3 separate regions of the Homo sapiens genome follow, and regions 2 and 3 are each linked to region 1. Evidence: promoter capture Hi-C in 16 types of primary human blood cells and fetal thymus (Javierre and others, 2016). All regions are on one chromosome and are shown on one strand. The core of a region is centred on a gene start or on the middle of the fragment in contact, and the rest is flanking DNA. Distances in the headings are between cores, read along the strand shown.

What was found. The method cuts DNA at HindIII sites, captures the fragments that hold promoters and counts their contacts. A CHiCAGO score of 5 or more calls a contact.
Region 2: a contact is called between a fragment that was not itself captured here and the fragment with the promoter of CCDC141 in region 1, in 3 of 17 cell types (non-activated CD4 T cells, naive CD4 T cells and total CD4 T cells). The highest score is 5.9, in non-activated CD4 T cells.
Region 3: a fragment that was not itself captured here is called in contact with the fragment with the promoter of CCDC141 in region 1 in 1 of 17 cell types (non-activated CD4 T cells); the score reaches 5.0 in non-activated CD4 T cells.

What each region holds. Positions count from the first base shown.
Region 1 is chr2:179,047,237-179,052,209 of GRCh38, forward strand. CCDC141 (coiled-coil domain containing 141) reads right to left here and starts at 2,901. Exons shown (of 24, transcript NM_173648.4): 1 at 2,604-2,901; 2 at 48-170. The coding sequence starts at 2,705. RefSeq lists enhancers at 2,398-2,447, 2,638-2,887, 2,898-2,977. The HindIII fragment of the contact is 6,980 bases long and covers 2,014-4,973 here.
Region 2 is chr2:178,973,728-178,978,700 of GRCh38, forward strand. CCDC141 (coiled-coil domain containing 141) reads right to left here. Exons shown (of 24, transcript NM_173648.4): 3 at 4,757-4,948; 4 at 1,330-1,438. Among named protein-coding and RNA genes, the nearest start is that of CCDC141, 74 kb to the right of the region's middle. The HindIII fragment of the contact is 1,378 bases long and covers 1,192-2,569 here.
Region 3 is chr2:179,128,632-179,133,604 of GRCh38, forward strand. It overlaps SESTD1 (SEC14 and spectrin domain containing 1), which reads right to left. Exons shown (of 18, transcript NM_178123.5): 10 at 3,673-3,795. Among named protein-coding and RNA genes, the nearest start is that of CCDC141, 81 kb to the left of the region's middle. The HindIII fragment of the contact is 637 bases long and covers 1,110-1,746 here.

The sequences.
Region 1 (4,973 bases), core at 1,651-4,150:
TTTATGTCTCTTTAATTTTGTTTCTGCTTCACATCTTAGTATCTTACCTTGAGCTTGGCCAAAAGAAGTTCATGATCATGAAGAAGTTTTTTGGTTTCATCTTGACTGCTGCCAATTTCTAGAAGATTGGGCTGTGATTCAGCCAGTTGAAGTTGTACCCATTTGCCACACTAAAAATAAAAATTAAATAAAATGCACTTTTAGTTCCTCTTGTTCCTTCCTCTTCACCCTTCTCATTTTTAATATATCGTTTAAATTTCCAGTTATACTGTAAACACTTTTTTCTATTTTCTATTTTTTTCCATTCTTTCCATAGAGATGGGGTTTACTTAAATTGAAACACAACAGATCTAATATAAATCCATGCCCTGTCTTTTATTTTTTATTCTTAGCATAAATTATTCTCTCTTGGCATATTGGATTTGAGTTAAAAATTCCCAAGTGAGGAAAACATACAATGGATTACGTATTATTGAATATTATAAAGTTACAGAATAATTTACACAACTGTATCCTCTCTCACTCACAAAACTGAACTCAATAAAAATAGTGAAATTCCACTTGGGCAGGTAGGATGCAAATTTCACCATGGGGAAAGTTCTTGTAAATGCAATTTAGGCTGATTAGTGTCTTTACATTGGCCTTGCTGGTTTAGCTGAAAATAATAAATATCAGATGAAGAAATTGATTTTTATCTTATTTCAAAGGTAAAATATGCTGTTTTCCAACCTTAGTTGTTGAATATTCATTAAAGCGTGTAGGAAAATATTAACAAAATTAGATGCCTGTGACAACTGCCATTTGAGCACAGTCAACTTGCTTTCCACACAAGATTTACACTGCTCTAAGATATAATTTGTCATTGCATTTCCTGAGGAATTGCTTTTCTAAGAAGCAACAACTCATTAAGCAAAATGAACCACTAACACGCATACGCATGTAGATACCTGAATTACTAAAGAGAAATTAGAAAAATGTATTTCTATTTTAGAATATATTCAGTCCCCTGAGACAGTTTGGACAGTCACTATAAATCACACACAGGCACTTCCATTCCATTAAGGTGGACTTTATACTCTGAATTGCTTGGGGTGTATTTTGTATGGAGATGGCAGTAAGGTAAGAGGGCTGAGGAGAGGGTAGTGGGGGAACATTCTTAGAAACACAATTCAGTTAAAATAAGAGTTTCCAGTGTAATTTTCCAGTGTAATTTCCAGTGTAATTTTTTTGTGTTCAATCTACCTCTGATTCTTCTGTAATTTATCCTCTAATATTATTCCTCATCCTGCTCCAAGAATGTTCATATTTGAGGAAATGGAAAGTTAACTTTTTGAAAAATAGTGAGTTTGCCTCTTTTCCCTCATTGCTGAAATCTGCAGTTAACTCAAAGTATCATTAATCCCGTGCAAATGATCTGTTTGCCCTACTTCTGCATCAGGCTTCTTTTCATCTCCTCTCTGGGACTCTGAAAAGATGGGAGGGTGAGGAAGTCAGCAGAGGCCTGGTTCCTGTGGGAGAGAAGTCTCACAACACCAGAAAATCCACCTCGGCAGGAATACTTTCCATTCTGTCCTTCTATAGTGAACTGTTTTGCTCAGTATCAAGTGCTCTTTTCCTGGTATGAATTTTCACATTACCATAAAATTCACAGCAATTAAGTTAAAGTAAACATGGCTTGCTGTCCATGCTCTAACAAAAGGCCAGAAAAGTCATTCAATTAAACCTGGTGGGGACCTGAAAGTAACTGGTTTGTGACCATCAGCTTGTTTGCCAGCTTTCCCTTCATTAAACACTGAATTATTTAGGTGGAATATCATCTAAAGCCCAAGCCTAGTGCTTGAAAGCTTTTTTTTACAGGGCATTTCCATGGAGAATAAAATCATGGAGTTCTTCTTCAGCCTAAAGATGTGTGGTCATCTTTGCAAATGGGCAAATGGGTTGTCATAAAACATGCAGTAATTGTAAACCCTAAGTGGCTTCTACTTCCTGCTGTTAAGAGCAAATTTGACACAAAGCTTTTGTACCTTTCCTTGCATGGTCTTCGTTACTGGACAAGGATTTAGTAGTTTCTTTACCATGTCAAAACCAGTGTGGCAAAGGGCACATGTCGGAGCCCTTTACTTGGTGTTTTCTGAGTTCCATCGTGCTTAAAGCAGTGCCCTCCCCCTGTCTGTCGGGACCTGCCTCCTCCCACCTCCATCACATCCACTCTCAAAAATCACAAGCATTCCACAGGTCCATTGGACTCTTTAGTCAGGCAATCATGAACTTCCAGTTACCAATGCCTTGCTTTTAAAGACCAAATTGACAGTATATGCTAGAGGTTTTCTTTTCTTTATTTTTCTTTCTTTTCTTTTTTTTTTTTTTTTTAAATCAAGCTGCTATAGATGCTTTCTGGCTGACTGAAAGGAAAGAGAATCTCTGGTAACTGCTGAAACTTGTAGAGGTTTCTCTTAGTAGCCCATTTTAGAAAGCAGTAAGAGTGCTTGCTGCGTTGTCTTCTCTATGCTGTGTCCTGCCGATTGCATGGAATGTTCTTTAGGGTTTTCAACACACAGCTAGAAGCCCACAGCCGCACAGAAAAAAGGAAGTTGTTAGCTTACCTTTATGACAGCTATAACGATTTTGGAGTCCCCAGCCTGCACAGCAACTGAACTGACTGTCGTCGTAGAAAGCGCAACACTAGGACTTCCTTGGCTGGACATGGTACTTTAGAACCAGAGTTTATACTTTGGGCAGCCTCTGGACAGTTGTGTGTCTGCTGGTCATTTCAGAAGGCCAGGGTTACTTGGATTCATTCAGGGAAAGAGCTCAGCTCACACTGATTACTCTGCCAAAAGGAAAGAACAGGAGGTTAAAAATAGACAACCCCATTGAGTTTATCGTGAGAGAGAAAGGAGCGAACGAGAGAGAATTGCCACGCCCCTAGTATGGTGACACTAAGTGCCTGTTATTTTTGCTGTTATCTTAAATGTGGAGGACAGCTTCAAGCTCTTTCCTTATCAGCTGATGTTTGATAACAAATGGAAAAAAAAATTACATCCTGACAACCCAAATTAGTTTTGCCACCGAAACTATGCCATTGTAACCATGGACTTTGAAACAAGTAAGTCTTTGACCTGGTTATCAATCTTTTCAAGATTTTTGAAATCTCTCTGATGCAAAGAGAACTACCAAAGTGTACTTTAAAAAAGTTTTGGTATTTGTCTTGGGGTTAAGTCACAAATTGCTTAAAACACATTTTTAGATTAATCTGCTTTTCTAAAACTTACTGTTCTTTGCTAAATGAAGTTTAGATGGAATAGCCACATTTTCTCAGAGCCTCAGATTTCTTAGGAATTTTTAAAAAATATTTCAACCAGCATTTATAAATAGGTGCCTATCATTTCAGATTTTCTTTGTGACTATTCTGCTCCATTGGACAAGGTTTTCAAGTTCAGTTATTAATACCATGAGAAAGCAAAATACTTTGCTGTTACCTTTTAATTGCAGCAAGAAAATGTTTTCTGTGTGGTTAAAAGTTATTAAGACATATATTTTGCTGCAATTAAAAACAAAAACAAAAAGGAAAGTACTGTGCTTCAGGCTTTTTATTCCCTACCCCCACCTCCTGTTCAGGAAAATTATAGCCAGCTTCAAATCAGTGCCCCACATTGGTAGATTAATCCTATTGCTAGAAACTCAGCCTGTGTCACAAGTTGTCTGTGGTATTAAACAGCAGCTGTTGGATTCCCTGTCAAAGAACAGCTGAAAATAACACTAAAGTTTAGGTCAGAAGTCAGATGCAAACATATCAGAGTTACTAACTCCAAAGCTGCTGGAAGCATTGGAAATCTCTGGGACAAAGCCACAACAGAGAATATAGCAAAAAACAGTTTTAATGAATCCACTTGCTCTGTAAACCTTTTAGCCCAATTTAATAGTAGGTTCAGGTTCAGGGCCAATGTTTAGAAGACTGAGTCAGCTCCATTGCTTTGTTTTGCTAAGGTTCATGATCATATTCTTGATTCAAAGGGGAAAAGTACTTTTACACATACTTCAGTGTTCAATTATTTTTGTTTCCAAGAGCATGTCATGGCTGCTCTGCAGCTGTGTAGCCACCACCCATGTCCTCTGCGCTCAGCATCTGCCTGCTGCCCCAGTGAGATGGAAACCATACCTAGATCCTAGTCCCTATGCAACACGAACTTCACCTGACCCCATGAAGGGAACAATTGGAGCGAGCTCAGGAAAGCAGATGCCGAGCAAGCTATGATGTAGCAACTATTGCAAATGGTTTCATTTTATGGCAGGGCTGGAGAGCTTGCAAAGAGGTAACTGACCTGGAAGGTTGCAGGCAGGCTCCTTCTTTCACTTGCATCTGTGTGAAGAGACCACCAAACAGGCTTTGTGTGAGCAATAAAGCTGTTTATTTCACCTGGGTGCAGGTGGGCTGAGTCTGAGAAGAGAGTCAGCGAAAGGAGATAGGGGTGGGGCCGTTTTATGGGATTTGGGTAAGTAAAGGAAAAAGGGGGGTTGTTCTCTGGCAGGCAGGAGTGGGGGGGTCACAAGGTGCTCAGTAGGGGAGCTTTTGAGCCAGGATGAGCCAGGAGAAGGAATTTCACAAGATAATGCCATCAGTTAAGGCAGGAACAGGCTATTTTCATTTCTTTTGTGGTGGAATGTCATCAGTTAAGGCAGGAACTGGCCATCTGGATGTGTACACAGGTCACAGGGGATATGATGGCTTAGCTTGGGCTCAGAGGCCTGACATTCCTTTCTTATATTAATAAGAAAAATAAAACGAAATAGTGGTAAAGTGTTGGGACGGTGAAAATTTTGGGGGATGGTATGGAGAGATGATGGGGGATGTTTCTCAGGGCTGCTTCGAGCGGGATTAGGGGCGTCATGAGAACTTAGAGTGGGAGGGATTAAGCTGAAGGAAGACTTTGTGGTAAGGGGTGACATTATGGGACTGTTAGAAGAAACATTTG
Region 2 (4,973 bases), core at 631-3,130, 75 kb before region 1:
TTGAAACTCTTCAATAATAGCATCCATCATTGTCAGGTTTCTGGAGGTAAAACTGCTGTGTGATGATCATGTTGGTTGAAAGAAGATTGAATTGAGACTACAGAACCCATCTGTTGCCTTCCAGTCTCCTAGGAGGAATTTCACGTGATTCTACTCATTTCCTTTGGACCTAGCTAGATTACTACTGCTGTATAATAATGGGCAACTGTTGCTTTAAAGCACAAACTTTTGATGCTTTTTATAATCCCTATTAGTGATAGGTCCTATAGAACAATAATCAGTGGAAATTATATATATGTATTTGGTAGGATCTCATAAGAATTTACATAGGAAAGATTGAGTCCTTTAATCTTACATAGGAAAGATTGAGTCCTTTAATCTTTGAGTTTTAGAAAGTTGTAATAAGTAATTTATCATAATGATCTATTGTCTAGAGTCTTTTGAAGGGTAATATAAACACTAAATCTATTTGTGACTTTAAAACACCTTTTGGTCCTATCCAGAATGACAGGCTGGTGGAGCTAGAAGTCAAGTTAGAACTGTGACAAATGAATTCAAGAAACCTTTCTATCCAGACCCTATTCTATTTGGCAGTAAAATTAGAAGACATATTAGGCAGAAAAGAAACGGTTGTTTCTATCAATTTATCTAACCTCCTTCCATTGCAAAAGATGACAGGTAACTACTACTTTTCCACAAATGCGTTTCCCTACTCCACTCCTGGCCCACACCAAATTCTTGTAGAAAGGCTTGGCATACAAATTGTTGGTTAACAACTAGACTATCTTTCTAGTTGTTCAGAGGGAACTGAAAATCTTTTTGTAGAGTGTTTTATTAGATTTTCATCTGGAAAAATTCACTGTTCCATTTTTTTAACTGCAATGGTGAAAGAGGAATTTTGCTGATTCAGACCTGCTTTTTAAAGAATTACCTTCATTTATTGACCCTTAGAAGGAACATTCACTGAATTCAATGATTTATTCAACTAAGAAAATTTCTTTAGGATCTACCATGTGGCAGGAACCTTGCTAGATGCTAAGGGTAAAGGGATGAACAAGGTAGAAATGGCCTCTGTCCTCAGGAGCTAAACTCTAGCACACCAAATAACAGAATCTCCTGGAGGCATATCCTCTACCATCCTCTCAGAATATTCACAACTAGTTCTTTCTTTCAGAAGATGATTAAAAATGAAGCTTTAACTTTTCTTGGAACAAGCTGAGGTAAACATAAATAGATCAATTTAAAATACACTATCATACATAAGCATTCTCACATTAACATCTTTTAAAACCTCTAAACACTTCTGTGAGAAATAAACATATTTCTTGCCTTTAGTATGATGTTCATGAAGCTGAAGAAGTGATTTTAAGGACTCAGCACTCTCAAACTCATGAGTATTCTGGAGGAAATCTTCAGCTTGGTCTATTTTAATAGCAAACTACAATAGAAATACAGAGGAAAGACATTTGACATTTGTATAAAAATTAACGTGCCATTGTTAGTTACCTGGAGATGTTTTTCATAAATTAGTAGCCCAACTGAGGATGTGTGATTATGCAAGTGCATATGTTTGTATGTGTTTGTGTGTGTTTTGGCTTACAGTGTTTGCATGAGGGTGTGTGTTTGCATGTGGTCAATTTACAAAGTGTCATTGGTAAGAACTTTCTTCTCCTTTCATACCTAATTATATAGGCTGAAATAAACCAACCTGTTTACTGTCCAAATGCCTATTAAATTTTTCAACCAAAATTATAGTGTCCTATGTATACAGTCACTTTCAACATTCTAAGGCACTTAGTTAAGAATAAGCAGAAAGTTAGCTAAGGGAAACCAAGAAAAGGTTAACTAAAAAGCAGTCTATACATTTACAAGTAAATGTAGCTTAGGAACTCACTTAGAGAGAAGGTAGAAGTATAGTTATTTTTTCCCTCTAAAATTGAACTTAGCAGTGAAATATGCAAGTTTCTGAATAATACATAGTCTAATCCAATATTTTATACAAAGCAAAAAAATATATATTTGTATAGAAATTGGTCTCAAAAAATACACACCAAATGGTGACTTAATGAGAAGAAATGAAATTAAGGATGAGTGAGAGGAGGTAAAATTTTAATATTTAAATCTATAATTTGTAATTCTGTTTGCATTTTTATCAATAATTTGTATGCATTACATCTATAAATAAAATGAGATTAGATGGAGCAAGAATGACAAGTGAGAAATTTATTCCCTGTTTCAAGGAAAATGCATAGTAATTTCACACTCTAAATGGTGAGGAATATAACTGGTCTGTCTTTTTTCTTTTTCTCCATAGAGGCAGTGGGAGATTGAGAGAGATGATTAACGTGATGTTAAAATGCTCAGGAAAATAATCTTAGAAACAAATTTTAGAATGGCAAAATATATTTGATTATCCTGTCACAGTATGTCTATAGTGGTAGACAAATAGTTGGCTTGTTTTAGCACTAAGATTCAACAGTAATTATCACAATTTATATGAGCATTTTAATATATCCACCTTTGGATTGGGTTTAGAATAAACTAATTAAGGAAAAGTATCAGACATAGAAGCTTACCACGGTACTTATCTTCTGTTTCAAGTCTTCTCCAAACTATCATTTTTGAATTTGGGGATTCTTAATATTTTAATGTAACTATTTGATTAACACAATCGACTGTAGTTTATTACAACAGCCATATGAAATCCAATTATAAGTGAAACAGAATGATGAGAGAGAGACTGAAGAGCATGGGACATGTTTTGGAAATGCAAGGAAGGCCTCTGTCATCCTATTAGAACAACCTGATGGACATCTGCTGCTGCCAATCAGGGGCAGTGTTCCTAAATTATAGCACAGTGTTCGAGGTGAGAATAACCCAACTGACAGTTATGTCTGTGAGCCTGAAATAATCTTGTAATAATGATCAGCCATGCAATTATTAGTAATTTTTCATTTCTCAAAAACTCCTACATGCACATAATTCAATAAGGGGGTCATATCCACATCATTTACATCTCTAATTCAATTTCTAATAACTGATTTTTAAAATATTATTTAAAGAGAATCTTCAAAAAGAAAAGAAAATTCCTAGCAGGTAGTTTGTTTGTTACCTGCAGAACATTAGAAAAAGTTCCAGGGTCACTGTTTAACTTATATTTATATTTCAGCTTGTTATAAAATTAAAAATAAATAAACCAATAAGCAAACAATGCTTTACTCAGAAAAAGTTTTCCTAAAGTTCTGTTTACTTTTATCAGTATTTTCCTTTCTCCACTCTCTTATATCACTAATAAAAATGGCTTTGGCATACAAAGGGGACATAAGGATTATATAGGAGTTTGTCTTCAGTTTAGTATGAAGTGATCCACAAAATTGGAAACAGGATAATACAAAAAATAATTAGTCTTTTCACTAGATTCAATAAAAGCTCACGCAAGTGTAAGTATAAGAGTGTTGGGCTTAATTATGGTTTGGCCTACTATTTCCTTTTACTTCATGTTATATCTGAAAGGAATTTACTCATCATGGAGAAAATAAGCTACATTAACACTAAAACACAGTGAGAAACAAATATTGCTCCAATGCTAGAAAAAAAGAAAATTTCCTGGGCTCAAAAGAGCTGAGTTTCAAGGACAGTTGACACCTATACCCTACTTACTAAGATAGAGTGAATCAGATATAGCTATAATTTGGCCTCTGTAGGTGTATTTCAGCTGTTTCATTTCTTTTCAGGGAAGAAAGATGGTGTATGAAACTTTTTCCAAGATGGTCTCTGAAATGAGTTAAACTTCGGTGTTCAAATTGTGAAAAACAAGCCTTGAAAGTTATAATAAGGTTTTTATTCCTCCCTTTTGCTTTTAAACAAGTTCATGATGCATGAGATTGCCTACTCCAATTTTTAGTTTCTATTACTAATCTTCTTTCCTTCATTATTTTGGATTTAAGTCCTGAATTTCTAGTTTAAAATGTCATATTTTTCAAAGCTAATGCTTTATCATAATGAAGCAGTGCTCTTACATCAAAATGAATGGGCTGCCACCTGACACAGAAGTTAAAAGTGAAATTTCCAATAACTGTCTTATACCAAATATAACACCTCTTTTGATAATGTTCTTTGAACTCTCATATTTTGAAATTAGAAACCTCAAAAAATTGTAGAATTCGAGAAAAATCACATGGAGACATGACCTTCTTAGGTCTAGGAGGACTTTTTCCTTCTCTTGTATTGTAAGGTGTTCAAACTATGGAAAATCAACTATACGCCTTAGGAAAGTACTTATAAAATGCTATATTTATGAATCAAATATCCTATGGAATATTCTATAATTGCCTTTTTAAAACATAGGCAGCAAAAGGAAATTTTATTCTCCAACTTTTAGCCAAGAACCACACTCTAGACCAGCATTTCTTAGTAATCCTACCATCAGGTAATTGTTTGATTTAGTAACTGTATTACTACCTTCTATAGAGGGAAATAATCGTAATGACTTATGAGTGTTCCCATTATTACTTAATATTTTACCAAATTTTAGTTATTTAACTGTACTTTGTTTTTGTTTGAAGATCTACTCTTAAAATAGTAATAATTTTGTTTTTTGACAATCAAAAATTAAATATATTGTGTATGTATGTTTTGGTTATTCTGCCATTTTTTTAACTGCTTGCAATGTCTATTTGTGAAAAAATAAACATTTTCAGGAGTGCTATTCATTTGCTCTGATGTGGGGAAGGGAGAAGTTTTTTAAAGTACAAACCTCTAAGGCATTTTCAAAAAATTCAGAAGTCAACCTAAGGAGCTCTGTTCTTCTTTCAAGCATGGACACCAGAGCTGCCCATGCTTCACCCAGAGTCTCGGCCATGGCATCATAGACCTGACTCTGATCCTTGTTCTCTTCAGCTGTCTTGTCTGCTTCCTGCAAGAGTTCCCATACCCGATCTTCCAAAGCCTAAGTACAAAAGAAAAAGGCATAA
Region 3 (4,973 bases), core at 178-2,677, 80 kb after region 1:
GGCAGGAGAATCGCTTGAACCTGGGAGGCAGAGGTTGCAGTGAGCTGAGATAGCACCACTGCACTCCAGGCTGGCGAGAGAGCTAGACACTGTCTCAAAAAAAAAAAAAAGAAAAGAAAAAAAAAAAAACCCAGTAGAATGTAGACTGCCTAGAACCTTAGGTGTATTTTGTTCACTTACAGCCATTCTCCGGTCTGTCTCTTATGTATATTTAACTGTGTAGAAAATGATTATTTTATAGCAAAATAAAAAAACACCAATATATGGGATTTGGATTGAGATGGTAAGAAAAGGGCTTGAAGGTTCACATTTAGGACACAAGCAGTCAGGATTGACAATGCAATCATGTTGGCAGTGACGCATACTTGGTGAAATGATGGATATTTATACTTTATACCATGAAATGTGAATCCATATGTAGGCAGAAGGAAACAGTGCCAACTCGGGTTAAAAAGGTGATTATACTCAGACTACACATTAGGAGAAATGAGTCTTGATTCGCCAGGTAGACCTGTTCTGCATAATGCACCAGAGAAAGTGGTTTCTTTGTAGACCAGAACTCAGCACTATGAGATGGTGGGATAGTGACAAAATTCTGAAGTAGTTTCAGATATTTATGCTCCTCGATGTTCCTATCACACACGCTTTTCCTACCACACACTTTCTTCAACCCAAAACATAAAATTAGATTTTTGAACTAAACTGCTTTTAAATTTATTGTCAGTTACTATAACCATTTTCATGTACCTTATTTTTTTTGTTGTGTTCTATTAAAAAACCAAGTTAACTTCTAATTACCAATCCTTGAACTAGAACTACAGGTTGGCAGAAATTTCATTTTTCTATGTATTAAAACTTAATATCCTAACAAATTTGGGGTTTTTAGCTTTATTTCTGCATTATGCTTTTATATGGACTCTAAAATTTAATATATGACATAAAATTTAATATATGACATTGAGCTGGTAATGCAAGATTGTATGTTAAAAGTTTTCTCAAATTCTACCGTTAACAGCTGTCAATGCCAGAAATTAGTCATACTTTCACAAGACTTGAACAATTCCAATAATGCTTTAATCTGTTAACTCTTAGTTACAGAGAGAAAAGAAAGCTTTTAATAAAATATTAGAATATCTTAAACATCATAAGCTAAAATATTCATCCAGCATCAACCAACCTATTCTCAGGGTGACAATGCAGTGCCACCTATTGGCTAAAACAGCACAACTGGCTTTTTAAAAATATGTCAAAAGTGGGAAGAATAGTGTAATGAACTCCTTCCTATCCAGCTTCAATAATGATCAATTCATGGGTAATTCTGTTTCACATACACTCCCATCCATTCAATCTGTTCCTACCTCCCAATTCTGAAACAAAACCCAAATATCACACATGATTTAAGGAAATAAAATCTCTTGATAGCCATCAATGTTTCTTTAGGTCATGTCTATAAATGCAGATGTCAATGTATATGTACATTCCTAAGTATTAAAAGTACAAGAATGAAAAACTACTGTAGCTTAACCATATCTGTAAAATTTAGTAGCTTTCTCTAAGAGACAGCTAGAGAAAGGATCCCCCCTGGGTATCAAGAGATCTGTGTCTTAACAATAGTCCAACTATTCACTGATCAAAAAACGTAGCTTCCCAGTTTTTTCATCTATAAAGTAAGATGAAGATATTAGAATAATCTATAAGGTATTTTGCAATTCAAAAGTTTTATATATTGGTTCCACATTATAAGTAAGCTTAAGCACATGGGAAGGGCCACCCTTAAGCGATGTTTCTTTAAGCTGATTTTGAAAACCTTATAAATATATTAAAAATACAAAACCAACATCTGAACATAGCAATTTCTATGTACATCATCTGCAATTTCATCCATACTATACGCAATATGAAATTTGCTTTTGAAGTCTTTTTGTAAACTTAGAGTACAGTACAGTATGTATACAATCCAATTTCTAACTGTAATTATTTATCTTGGCATTTAAAAAAAATAATAAAATATAGATAAATCCTGTCTTTAGAATCCTCATGTGCCATGTGTCCTTCCTAAAAAGAACTTTTGGAATACTTTCATAACTAAATCCCCTTAGGTGAAGTCTAGAATGTTCTAGAGTAAATACAGTTTTTTAGGAACTAAAGAGAGGAACAAATTGTAGACTCTAACTATAGTAACATGTTCTAGAACAGTCTACCAGGTTCAAACAAATCACAATCCATGTTAAAAAAAAAATCAAAACATTATTTTAAAAGTACCAAGAGAATTAAAAGATTATATCCTCAGGAACAGGGTTTGTAATATGATTATTTTAGTATAAAAGGAAGAACCATTATGTTGGAACCTGTGAAATGCATAAAATAAATCGATTTTCAATTATGAGATTTCATTTTCAAGTTTTTTACAAGTACTAATTAGAAAAATTGCAAGGAATATATATGTAGTGCCTTTAGACAATTCCAAATCTTGTAATATCTCTTATTATTCCTTCAGCTAGATTACAACTGCTTTAGGGTATAGTAGTAGATTTTCTGCCAATACCAGTAATTGCTATACCTGATTTACAGAACATTACAAAGAAAGCAATATGAGGAAACTAAGCAAAATGGAATACATTTAGAAGAAAAATAAGAATCAGATATTGTTAAATTCTAGTAAAGATGAGATTTACTCATTCATTCAAATTTATTCCCAAGCAAACCATATTACTTATTCTTTAATCTTGTTTAGTTAAAAATGGACATTTCCTAATACTATCCAACATAATTAGAGGAAAGAAGAAACGTTGCAGAAATTAATGTTCCGACGGTACTTAATGCTCATCTGGGTCCAGAGTTTAACATTTTGACCACCTTTTTTAAGACAACCTAAGGAGAAGGGAATTAATGGATTCAAATTTTATTTTTCCAATTTTGTATTTAATCTATTTTAAATTACCAAAGTAATATGACCTTAGGGAGAGGGGGGTGAGCTACCCCGTCCACAAACTGGATGATCTCTTTCTCAGTAATGAAGAATTAACTGTAACAGAGCAGGAGATTAACGAACACCAGCTTCTTTCACATAACAAGTTGTTAAATTTTAAATTATCTTTAACAATTATTATCTATAATCTGCTTAAGAATCTATTTATTTCCCAATTTTATACCTGTGATTTGTCTGATTACCCCTTTCACAAATACAAAAGGGACCCCTAAATGCTCAGAGAATGGAAAAATATTCTGCACCCTCTGGACTTACTCTCCATCAGTTGTGTTTAATGCAGCAATTCTGCTATCACTCTCAGGCATTTAATTGTACTATATACTCCCAATAAAGTGGGGGTGAGGGGGACTTGAAAACAGAAGTTTCTGTCACAGAGACTACAGATGAAAGCTCTATTTTTGTATTATCACTCTTTTTTCTGTCACTGTAGCTTTTAAAATTTCATGCAAATTGTGCTTCTATAAAAATATAATTAAACTGCATTAGAGACAAAACCAAAAACAACCTTCTAATTAACATGTACTAAGTAATCAAAATGTACTTTATGACCTCTAGGCACTTAACAAACTGTACTTCATGCCCCATACCAAAGTTTGCAGCAACTTATCACTCAGTACCACATATGCTACTAATTACCCACGTTCATAATATCATTGTAACTTGCAGAGGAAAAAGCCTCTCACACTGTGCTGGCTCTCAATCTCTTCGTGTTTCTGCTGTAGGGCCTGGGAGGCCCTAATGGAGTCTCCAATGCCCCACTGGGCTCTTAGTTGTTCTGATCCAGGCCCTTCTAGCCAGTTCACCACCTATAAACAAAAGTTGAGATAACATTTTTTAAAGAATCAGAAACTTTTCAAACTTTCATTCTAACTTATTTTTCCCCTCCCAAAGTTCCCCAATTATTTTTAATGTAAATTATTTACATTCTATCACATAGGCAGTAAATGTTTCTTTTGGAACTACACAGCTATAATGTGACAACATTTTCAAAACTTAAATGTGGAAGAATGTACACTGTAGCATCACAAGCTTTCAGCTATCTGATTATCTTTCAGGCTAAAAGAAATCTGGAATGCTTCTATAAAAGAGGATTAAAAATTAACTTACGAAAAGAGAATCAGAGAATCATAAGATTTAGAGTTGGAAGAAACATCAGAAATGATATCAGTCAAAGTTCTTAACTAACATTTAAGAAAACTGAGTTTCAAACAGATTAAGTGACTTGCCCAAGATAACATAATCCATTATTGAAAAACTGGACTAACAGCCATATGTTCTAACTCATAGTCTAATGTTCTTCCCAAGCATTGAAAAAACTGACTGAATTAACTACTATAAAGTTAATATACCACTTTATCACTTCAAAAATAAAATTAAAAACTAATTAGAATTATGCTAATGTAATAAATACCCTCTTGGACTCTTCTTAGGATCAACCAACATTCAGACCCACAAAAGGCCCCACTGGCACCAGTCTGCTAGTAAGGATATAGGGTGGGAACTATAGTTTGCCAGGATGACAGCATCAGGAGTTCTTCAGCTGAGTCCCTCAAGCAGGTATAAGGAGATGAGATCAGTATGGGGCAGATATGGGAGACACTCTGGCATCAAAACATGATACCCCACAGGACTATGCCCATTATGAGTCACTAAACTCAAGGATCCCCACCCCAAGTTATGCCTTCCATCATATATTAATAATTCTCCCAGTCCAGATCTGGAATAATGTTTACTATAAGCAATATTGCCTAGTAACGTAGTTGACATTCCAATTTTTAATCAGGTCTTCAGGGGAACAGAGCTAAAGGGTTAAGCAAAGATCAAGTTCTCATGCAGAAGGAGAGGATTGTGCTGACACTCTACCCACAATCATATACACTCTGAAACTACAAACACATTGTGGAGTAATTTTAGTGGAAAAAATGGTATTACCAAGCTTTACCTTTTGCCAAATTAGAAAAAGGAATTTAAGAATAGATGTATG